Regions from separate parts of the Homo sapiens genome. Here region 2 is linked to region 1. Evidence: promoter capture Hi-C in human tissues and cell types (Jung and others, 2019). All regions are on one chromosome and are shown on one strand. The core of a region is centred on a gene start or on the middle of the fragment in contact, and the rest is flanking DNA. Distances in the headings are between cores, read along the strand shown.

What was found. Contacts are between HindIII fragments. The study calls those that stand out against the background at their distance.
Region 2: a fragment that was not itself captured here is called in contact with the fragment with the promoter of IFNAR2 in region 1 in 1 of the 25 tissues and cell types used here (H1 embryonic stem cells).

What each region holds. Positions count from the first base shown.
Region 1 is chr21:33,227,932-33,233,208 of GRCh38, forward strand. IFNAR2 (interferon alpha and beta receptor subunit 2) reads left to right here and starts at 2,007. Exons shown (of 9, transcript NM_001289125.3): 1 at 2,007-2,285. It overlaps IFNAR2-IL10RB (IFNAR2-IL10RB readthrough), which reads left to right and starts at 2,007. Exons shown (of 13, transcript NM_001414505.1): 1 at 2,007-2,285. RefSeq lists silencers at 1,824-2,283, 2,344-2,403, 2,424-2,473, 3,696-3,885. The HindIII fragment of the contact is 14,450 bases long and covers 1-5,277 here.
Region 2 is chr21:33,072,395-33,077,671 of GRCh38, forward strand. It overlaps OLIG1 (oligodendrocyte transcription factor 1), which reads left to right. Exons shown (of 1, transcript NM_138983.3): 1 at 1-19. Among named protein-coding and RNA genes, the nearest start is that of OLIG1, 4.9 kb to the left of the region's middle. The HindIII fragment of the contact is 4,648 bases long and covers 1-4,560 here.

The DNA.
Region 1 (5,277 bases), core at 757-3,256:
ACTGATACTGAAACAAGAAGAGTTGTTAATCTTCAATTTGTTCAGCTTTTCTCTTGTTGTGGGGAGTGGAGTGACAGCTTTCAAGCTCTTCACACCTTGGCATAGACTGCATTTGCTTTTGTTTTGTTTTGTTTTTTGTTTGTTTGCTTGTTTTGAGACGGAGTCTCGCTCTGTCGCCCAGGCTGGAGTGCGGTAGCGCAATCTTGGCTCACGGCAAGCTCCACCTCCTGGGTTAACGCCATTCTCTCGCCTCAGCCTCCTGAGTAGCTGGGGCTACAGGCGCCCGCCACCACACCTGGCTAATTTTTTTTTTTTTTTTTTTTTTTTTTTGGTATTTTTAGTAGAGACGGGGTTTCACCGTGTTAGCCAGGACTGCATTTGTTTTTTAAAAAATCTTTTTCCTAATTATATAAGTAAGGATGTTTACTGTAGAATGTTTGGAAAGGAAACAAAATAAAAATCACCTACTATCATCCAATCTGCAATAAGTCATAGTTAAGGTTTTGACATAGTTTTATTTTTAATATATATGTTTATATAAAAGAGTGCATGCAGCACATGGAGTTTGGTATTGGATTTCTCCCATTTTCAGAGGCTATTTCTGCAAATTCTCTAAAACTGTGGCTGAAAATATTTTCAATGTTGAATGTCTTTTATAAGAAATAGGATCCTAGATAAGTTCCCTTCAGATCGTATGGGGCTGGTGGGAATTCTGCCAAGGGTCACATAAGAGGCAGGACCGTGACATCCTCTTTATGATCACCCTTGTGCCTAGCCTTAAAGGAGTATCAGCAAATGTTGGTTGACTTCATAGATTAAAAGGCTCATTTTTCCCATCTACAAAAAGTATGAAACATCCTCCTCCTCCCTTTCCTAGGAGGCCAGAAAGCTGAACGAGAGATTAAATACTCAGTTAAAACAATTTAGGTGGTTAGTGTATCTTTTCCCTCTCCTTCAAAAAGATATTAACATTTCCATTTTAGTAGCTGTAATGTTTAGAATATACATACATTTTACTTGAAAGCTGCCTCATAGTCTATTTTGGTTTTGGATTTTCTTTTTTTTTTCGTTTTTCTTGAGACAGAGTTTCGCTCTTGTCTCCCAGGCTGGAGTGCAATGGTGCAATCTCAACTCACTGCAACCTCCACCTCCCAGGTTCAAGCAATTCTCCTGCCTCAGGCTCCCAAGTAACTGGGATTACAGGCGCCCGCCACCACGCCCAGCTAATTTTTGTATTTTTAGTACAGACAGGGTTTCACCATGTTGGTCAGGCTGGGTCTTGAAGTCCTGACCTCAGATGGTCCATCTGCCTTGGCCTCCCAAAGTGCTGAGATAACAGGTGTGAGCCACCGCTCCCGGCCTCATAGTCTATTTTAGAAGTTGACAGGCTATAAATAACAAGCAGACAAATTAATGAAGAACATCTGTCTTTCTGCCTATCCCGAAACACGTTGATCAGTGGGGGGTCGAGGGAAGGGTAGGAGTATGGAGAAGAGACCCGCGGAGAAGAGGGGAGAATCTACAACGGATAATGTTGTAGATATTTACAACATTTACTCAATGGTAGGTATTTTTATCCTCGTTTTACTAGTTGGAGAATTATATCATGCAGGTTTATACAATTAACAAGTGGGGGAGCCAGGAGAGAACCCATTCACTCTTTAGTTCATTCATTCATTCAGTCAGTCAACACATCTTTGGGTGTCTTCTAAATGCCAGGCACTATTCTAACCCCTAAGGATACTTCAGTAAACAAAACAGTCCCAAATTCTTCCCCTATGGAGCTTTCTCGGCGAAGGCGGGATTGGTTAGGAGCTGACAATCGGCAGCAGACGATTGTAAATGACCGGACCTTTTTTCTATTCTCCTGCCCAGCCCCCGGCCCGGCCTCCGCCTCCGGCCCTGCTCCAGCCCCGCCAGCGGCCCAGGACCCGCCCCTGGCTCCGGCCCCGCCCCTGGCTCCGCCCCCGCCCCCGCGCCGGCGGCGGCGCGGCGCCCGCGCTTCCGTATCGCTCCTCGTAGGCCGGGGCTCGGCGCGCGCACCCGCACTAAAGACGCTTCTTCCCGGCGGGTAGGAATCCCGCCGGCGAGCCGAACAGTTCCCCGAGCGCAGCCCGCGGACCACCACCCGGCCGCACGGGCCGCTTTTGTCCCCCGCCCGCCGCTTCTGTCCGAGAGGCCGCCCGCGAGGCGCATCCTGACCGCGAGCGTCGGGTCCCAGAGCCGGGCGCGGCTGGGGCCCGAGGCTAGCATCTCTCGGGAGCCGCAAGGCGAGAGCTGCAAAGGTAACGCAGCGTGGCGGGGTCGCGGGAGCGGAGCGCGTGGCCAGCTGACTGGAGGGAAAACGCCGCCTCCCTGCAGCGGTTCCCGGAATCCCCTCCGGTTCCCTCTCGCTCTCCCCGACTCCTCCTCCTCCTCCTGCCCTCCCTCTGCGTCTTGAGTATGCGGCTAGTGCGCCCTTCCTCTCTCCCGGGGCCGCACCTGCGACCCCAGGACCCCTCCCGGGCCCTGTCCTGCGCCCTCCACGCGTCGCCCCTGCTGGGAGTCCGCTTTCGTTGCACCCCTCCGCGTCCCACCCCACCCCACCAAGGATGCCCAGGATACCGGGCATTTGCCACTGCAAGATGTGAGTCGTTGCTAAGTTTGAGGGTCACATTCCTCCAGGTCCACCCCGCCTTGCAAAACCGGCTCACCAGCTGGGTGCTCAGGTTCGGGATCTCCAGCCCGCCCCCTTGAGGTCCCCTGGGATTAGCCCCCCTCGACCTGCGTCAGGGTCACAGACTGCAGCCGGGGCTGGAGCGGCCTACACCCCTCCGGATCCGCTGCGTGGAGGCAGGAGGGGGAAGGGGCGAGGGGACGTGGCCGCGGAGACAGAAGGGTGCACCCTCCCAGGGTCGGAGAGGGGAGATACTGGGAAGATACTCCGCGAATATGGAGAGGCGATCGGCACTTGCATTTCAACCCTGAGCAAATCAATCCGTTACACGCAGTAGCGAGTTGACTCCATCAGCCCGTTTATTTGGTTAGCGATGGTTATATTGACTCTGAGTATTCCCACCTCCTTTCTTTTAACATTTTTTTTTTTATTTCCTTGTTTTGTTTAGCAAGAAGTCTTAGAAACGAATATAGCATGCTTGGGCGTTGATTCAGTGGTGAGAAGTGCCGGAGCTGGCTCAGGGAGAGGTGGAGTTTCCCATGTGTGCTCACTGGCCCAGGGGCTAAGTCCCACTGCTTGCCAAGGTTTCTCAGTATCCTGTCCACCCACCCCCTATCCACCTGTGCAGGCTTGAGGGGGTGAGGGGGTAGCAGATACTCTATCAAAATCTACCCTAAGGAAAATATTCGATAAACACTCCTAGCAATTAGGGCATAGCTGATAAGGCTTGATCTGTTTGTCGCAGAAAATGACTTGAACTTGTAAGTTCTATTGTTCATAAAGTTGTTTTCCACAATTTTAGATAATCAAAAATGTACATGACTCATTTTTCTTACCTATTATTTCCTCTAAAGTTTCTCATGTATTTATTGAAAAGTTAAAGAAAATCTGATTTTGGTTCACATAATTTGACAATGGTGATTTGTCTAAAAGTCATTTCAAAAAGTAGTATGAAAAGGATCATAACCCTAGAGGTACTGTCATAGACGTGAAACATTTATTAAAATATATATTCCATGGCTCACACTTGCACACTCAAAGCCACATTGGACTCATTTTTTCTGCTACCTTTATAAACCTTCAAACTGTTCAAGAGTCAATGGTATGTATCATCTTCCGTTATCAATCATCATGTTTTGTTTTGTTTGGTTTGGTTTGGTTTGGTTTGGTTTTTGACAAAGTCTCGCTCTGTCGCGCAGGCTGGAGTGCAGTGGCACTGTCTTGGCTCACTGCAACCTCCCCCTCCTGGGTTCAAGCGATTCTTCTGCCTCAGCCTCTTGAGTAGCTGAGATTACAGGCGTGTGCTACTACGCCTGGCTAATTGTATTTTTAGTAGAGATGGGATTTCCACTATGTTACCCAGCCTGGTCTGGAACTTCTGACCTCAAATGATCCACCTGCTTTGGACTCCCAAAGTGCTAGTATTACAGGCTCAATCATCATGTTTTATCAAAGCTAAAACCCAAACTAAAATGCCATTGCTTATAAGATGCACTTTCATTTTATGTAATGAAGTAAGAAAAAACACTGTCAATCATGCTATGCCATGCCACCAGAATGAAAGCATTCTGATTTCAGAAATTCTCAAATGTTAAAAGAAAATGGGCATTTTATAATTTGTGAAATATTAGTGAGTTAGAGCAGAGCTTGACGGCACTGGCCCTGAGGGTCCTTCTTCTTCCTTTGGAAGAATGAAACTGGGGGCTATGCAATTCAGGGAAGAATAAAGGAAAAACAGGTAATTGGCAGAGGAGGTTGGCTGACTTAGAGGTATGGAAAAGACAAAACAAAGGAGGGAAAAAGAGAGGTATGTATGATGGGGAGGAGTTCAGAGCCACTGAAAATTTTCTCTGGCCCTAACAGGAAAACGAGTTACCCCACAAGCCAGGGTTTTATCATCTGGTACGTGGAGATATCCATCAGCATTGTCATTGGTTTTCATTTGTTTGTTTTTAATTCTCAAGTTTAAAAAAAAATTTAAAATTTAAATGTGTCTCAACCACCAGAAACTATAGTGAGATTTCTCTGTAATAAATAGGAAAGAAGGAGACTGATCCAGTCCTTGTTAAAAAAAAAAAAAAGAGGAAACTGAATCACAACATACTTTGCTTTTTTCTTTTCTCACAAAGGAACAGTGGGCCCTTTATGCTGGGTGAAGGTGAGTGAGATGGGGGAAGGTTCACTGGGCACCAACCTTCTGGGCTAGAGAAATTGCCCAGGCTTTACAGAACAAGCTGGAATCAGATAAAGTTGTGGAAAGGAAGTCGAGGTTTCACTCTGCCATATCAGTAGGAGGTACTAAAGCCAAACTAGTAGCAGCAAAGTGAACAGAAATGGTAAGGGGGAAAAATAGGAAAGGAAAGAACAACGTGGATTGCAAGACGTCTTACTAAAAACAAAGAATTACACTTGGAACAGAAGAAATTCATTACCATTGCCTTACACTGTGCAACAACTTGATAAAAATATAAATCCAATAAAACAAACTCAAAGATGAGAAAATTGTAAACTGGAGATGAAAAGGGAGATTGCAGACCTAAAGGAAAATTGAAGACCGTAAAAACATAGTGACAGAATAAATAAGTCAGGAGAAAGAACAGAAGCAATACTGCTGAAAATAA
Region 2 (5,277 bases), core at 987-3,486, 160 kb before region 1:
TAAAACATTTAAAGTCTGATTTTTTACATTTTTTGTCTGATTTGTTTGGTAATAAAAAAGTCCTTGTATCCTAGTGGATTTAGAACCTTGGGGTGAAGGTAGGTAAATGACCGGGGTCCCAGGTTTTAAAATGTGACTTCCTGATTTGTAAAATAATCCAATGAACAGGCAACTGTAGTTCAAGTTCAGGCATTCGTGGGAAATATGAGGATTATAGGTAAGTGGGTGGGTGGGATAGAGAATGGGATAGAGAAGGGAGAGAGGCAATTCCAGGAATTCATTCTTTGCCAAGCTTCAGGCATAGGTCTTTTTTAACTACAACTTCATCCCCTGGAAAATGGGTTAAGCAATACCTTTATCATAAAATTGTAGCTCAACATCCTTCCAGGATATCCACCTTTTCTATATCCTTGGACAGAAGCTTAATACCACACAAGCATGAGCTTCCCGCTGCTGCACCCACCTACCCCTTATCATTTAAATCAGGTTGGAATTGTCTTCACCTAAGAGGTGAAGAAAGCTCTTCTGTCTGTTTGGTGCTCTTAAAAAGAATTTGGAAGGCTGACCTGCTCACATTGCAATAATGAAACACTGCATAATTATTAATGAAACCCAACCACTGTTTAATGTAGGGGAGTAGTAGAGAAGTAGTGTCCCCTTTAACCTGAGGAAAATTAAAGAAAACCCAGAGATGACTTACTCAATTTTATCCATGTTGGTTTATCTGAGGCATATACACATTTAGAGAAAATGAGCACCACTTTGGAGGTGGGGGAAGGAGGTGGGAGGTGGCTGGAGAGATGGCATTGCCCGGCTACCATGCTGTGTCTATTTCCTTAAGGAGAAGTCAGGACAGGGCATGGGAGAAGGTGCTCTGTGCACCAACTCATTCCAAAAGAGGATTTCTCATGCTTCCTAGACTCTGCCACCAGCAAAGTCACCACTTTTATAAAAAGTAGATTTGAACTCTGGCCTTCTGTTTATTCAATGCCTTTCCTTGCTTACCTTATATCTTGGCAAGGGGTAGGGGAAAAAAGTGAAAATCAATGAAATCAAAAGCAAATTAGGTTCTCCTTGAAACAAAAATACTTCTAAGGGATTAGAAACAAACAATTTCTCCCACTGTCCAACACCAGCACCTAGATGCCACTGTCATTCCAGACATCATCTCTAAAAGGAGCCCAAAGCTACAGGGCAGAAAATGGGTCTGCCCTTCTCTACCTGTAAATGGGAACAAGCCGCCCATGCCTTATAGGAAAAGTAACACTATATGTGTATGATTTTTTTTTTATTTAACTAAGAAAATCACAGCCTATCATGCTTTTCAGAAGGGCCAAAGGCTATAAATAAATTTAACAAGGACACACGGGGCTGTTTTGGGTGCCATCAAAATACTTATCTGCCTGCACGTAGCGTGCTTTTGGCCGTTGTGCCAAGCAAGATTAGCAGACTTGCTCTATAGAAGGAGTTTACATCCTAAAAAATAGTACCAGCAAGCATTGAAGAGTCCTGTAGGATGAAACAGATAAAAGGTAATTATATACAGTGTCCACAATGCAAAGTCAGACTGCTCAACATCTGTCTATGGCAGGGCAGTGTATTCTGCATGCAGAGTTTAAGCTTAGACATGTGTGTTCTAGAGCATGGAGCTGCTTTTAGAAATGTTCAGTGCTATGTCACGCCAGCAAAGGAGCTAGCTGAATTGTCCACCATACTTGATTTTAGCTGGAGTGGGCTTTGTTCAGAAGGAACAAGTGTAAGCTAGCCTTTGAAGGGTTTGGGACAGCTGGGAGGGTCTTAGTAAGGTTCCTCAAGAAAGGCACTCTAAGAGCTCAGAAGCAAGATGAGAAGGAACCCACGGCTCACTGCCAAAAAAGTTCCCTGCATCCAGCCAACCACCAAAGTGAGGTCCTGGCAATTAGAGTAAACTGAACCTAATGGGAAAATACACAAGGCCCTGAGAAATTATATTGTTATATATATTGGAGTCCAGGTGAGCAATCAGTAGACAGAGGGCAGAATCAATACACGATGGGATTTGCCTAGCCCGCAGTGATGGTCTACTTACAGATGTTCTCCTCTAAGGGAAACTGATGACACTAGACATAAAAATTTAACTTTGTGAAATATACAGCTTAGAGGGTAAGTGGCTGCTTCGAGGAAGAGGCTCCTCTCCAATCATGGAAAATGTTTCCACTTACTGAAGTTTAGAAGATGAACGACAATGCTTCCATCTTGCACTCCACTTTAAGGTGTTTGGTCTTTCCTGAATGCTTAGGTACGCAGGTGAGGCTGGGTACAAGAGAGCCTCAGCCTGCTAACTAGACCCCCTGGAGCCTCCTGTTGTGTTTAGGAAGCCAGCCAGGAAAAAAAGGGGCTTTTCTTTTCTGCCATAGAAGGATACCTGATGAACTTGCCAAGAGCAAGGTGATGGTTGGGAAGAGTCATTCAATTGACACTTTTGCTCCCTGGGTATGCAGTGCATTGACTAGGAAAGTATATTTCCCTCAGAAGGTATTTTCCTGCTTCTTCACTGCCTCTTTTCTCTTCTGCACACACAATAAATATTCAATAAGAAGATTACCACATTCACTGAAGTAGGCTCACAAAGCAATGGGGTGAAAAATGCCATGTTTTTCAAAAACATGAATTCACTTTTCTCCAGCAGATTTTTAGGTGTGGGGAAAGACGTTAGAAATACTGTTTCCAAGTAAGATCCAGTTAACGTGCAAAACTGGAGTAGCAAGATATTCCTCAAAACCTGCACACAAACTAGTCTCGTTATTTATGGAGACATCGGAAAATCATTCTTAAGGCAGTTCCCATTCTGTCATTTTTAACTAAGCCCAGCGTAAAAGCTGACATGCCTGAAAAGAAACCAAACCACATTCTTTCTGCTCACACGGGATTAGGAGCTCTCCGCAAACTCTCCCCCTTCCCTCCTGCTGCTGTTGACAGGCCAGGCTCTGAGCTCAGGACAAGGAGCTGAATATTCCAAGTCCTTAAACACTACAGGCTGCATGACGCTTTTGTGTGTGTGGGGGGGTGGGGGTGGGGGGGGAATGCCTTGATTGAAAGCAAAAAGAATGCATTCTACGTCCATGCTAAGCCTTCTGCGGTGACCACCGAGGACAGAGCACGCAAGTAGGCCACTACCTGGGACAAAGGCCGCAGGTACCAAATCATATCTGAGTCTCATGAATGCTGGCAGGCAAAGGCAGTTGCAAATCATCCATTCTCTCTTCTCCCTACTGAATAAGGCAACCGAGGCCCAGGATGGTCGGGAACCACAGTCAAAGCCACACAGGTGGTCAGAGGCAGTAATGCCAGGGACTAGCGCCTGCTTTGGGGAAGCACGGGCTGCTTCCTTGGTCTGTCCTGGTGAGACAAGGAATGGGAATCCCAACAGGAGGTCCCCACCCAGAGCTGAGCATGTTCTTCTGCCCTCCCCTGGAAAATCTCGGTCCTCTGGTCTCTTCCAGCCTCTCTGCTCAGCCTGTAGGCTGGCCCTGCTGGTGGCATCCAGGAGAGATAGGCTCAGGACAAATCCCTTGCTGGCTGACCTGACTGCAGTTGAGTCACCTGAACTTTCTCGGCAGCCTCGCCCCCTAGCCCCAAGAGAGGCCCAGACTGGTGACAGGGAGTGGCAGAGGCAAGGCCACCTCTGTGAGAGATCCTCTGACGGTTGCAGGTTTGTCATTCGAGTTTCTGAAAGTGAGCAAGCAGACGGCTGACAGACAAGGGCAGCAGGGTGCAAGGAGAAAACGGCTTCTGAAGGCACAGCTTCAGAGACTTTCTCCTCCTGGCTGCCTCACAGTGTTTTCATGTGGAAACTAGACATTCTGACCCTGCTGGAACCTGTGTCAACGTCGTCGGCATCTTTTTGTTGAGTGTTTTTCATGGACACGAGTGATTCCCCAACAGGCCCCTCTGCAGTGGTGGCCTGAAATAGAGGACAGACGCCCCTGACAGGCCCTGTACCTGGAGCACCAGTCCAAGGCAAGCCATGGGGCCCAGGAAACAGGCTCCCAGCACTGGGATTCAATAAGGGCTGTTGTGTCCCAGAAGCTTCTAAGTGATGTGGGTAGCTCCTTAGAGAATGCCAAAGTCATAGGACCTGGAGACTTCAAAATCACAAGAGCAGATGAGAAGACTTGTCTGTGAGGTTAAAAAGAAAGAAAAAAGAAAAGCCAACTCACCTGGGGGCAGGCAGGTGGGAAGGAGAAGCTACTCTGCAGAAATGGCAGAGCATTACTACCAGAAATAAAAATAACAATGGTGCTGATAAGAGCTCATTGTGTTATCGGGCACCAAGCAGGGTTGTAAGCATTTTACATGCATGCTTTCATTTTGTAGGCACCAGCGTTATCCCCATTTTACAGATGAGAAAACAGAAACATGAAGATACAGAGACAGAAGAAGCTGAAGCCAGTTCAGGGAAGTTGTAGCAGCCAGACACAGAAAGAAATGAGGCTCTGTCTAGAAGAAAGAGAGCCCCCAAGGGTTGTCCTCTCTGTCATTGCTGTAATGTGGAGAGGGGTCATTTTCCTTCCTCCCCTTAGCTCTTGGGGCAAGGCTGGGAAACCCCACCTGTACCCCAGTGCCCGCCCCATGCCTGGCTGTGGCTGCTTCTATTAATTGCATGTCTAACCAATGCATGATCCAGGCGTCAACGTCTCGCCACTCCCTGTCTCCTCTTTCTTGAGCCTGAGACCATGGGGTCATTCTTTTAGGTCATTTCACTTTTAGCTTTCTTTTTTTTTCAGTTTCACTTTTTCATTTTTATCTGATTTTTATTTCCAAAATGTTCAGACCTGGCGGAGACTGATCTAAGAATGTGAGTAGTGAGATGTCAGGGATTGCGGATGGGGCAGAAGGGAGGCTTCACGCAGCCCGCACCCTTCAACACATACATGCTCCTCGTCCTGGTCACCACTGAGTGTTACAGGCAAGAAAATAAAAACCCTAAACTCCTCAGACAGTGATCATTAGGTGTCATTCTGTTCAAATCTTAAAAAATAGTTTGAGCAGATGAAGAATCAGTAAAGAAAGCTTGGAGGTGATTTGATAACATTTTATCTACCCAGAGGACCAATCAAAGAGAGTATTTGTATTGTGGTGATGGTGGTGATGGTGGTGGTGGTGGTGGTGGTGGTCGTGGTGCTGGTTTTGTTCCATTTGCTTGCTTCCGGTGGCTTCACTCACATGCTTCCTCTGCAGTCCTGGTTCCCCACAGCCATGGGCAGAAGGTACAGCCTATATATGAGTCTCTATCAG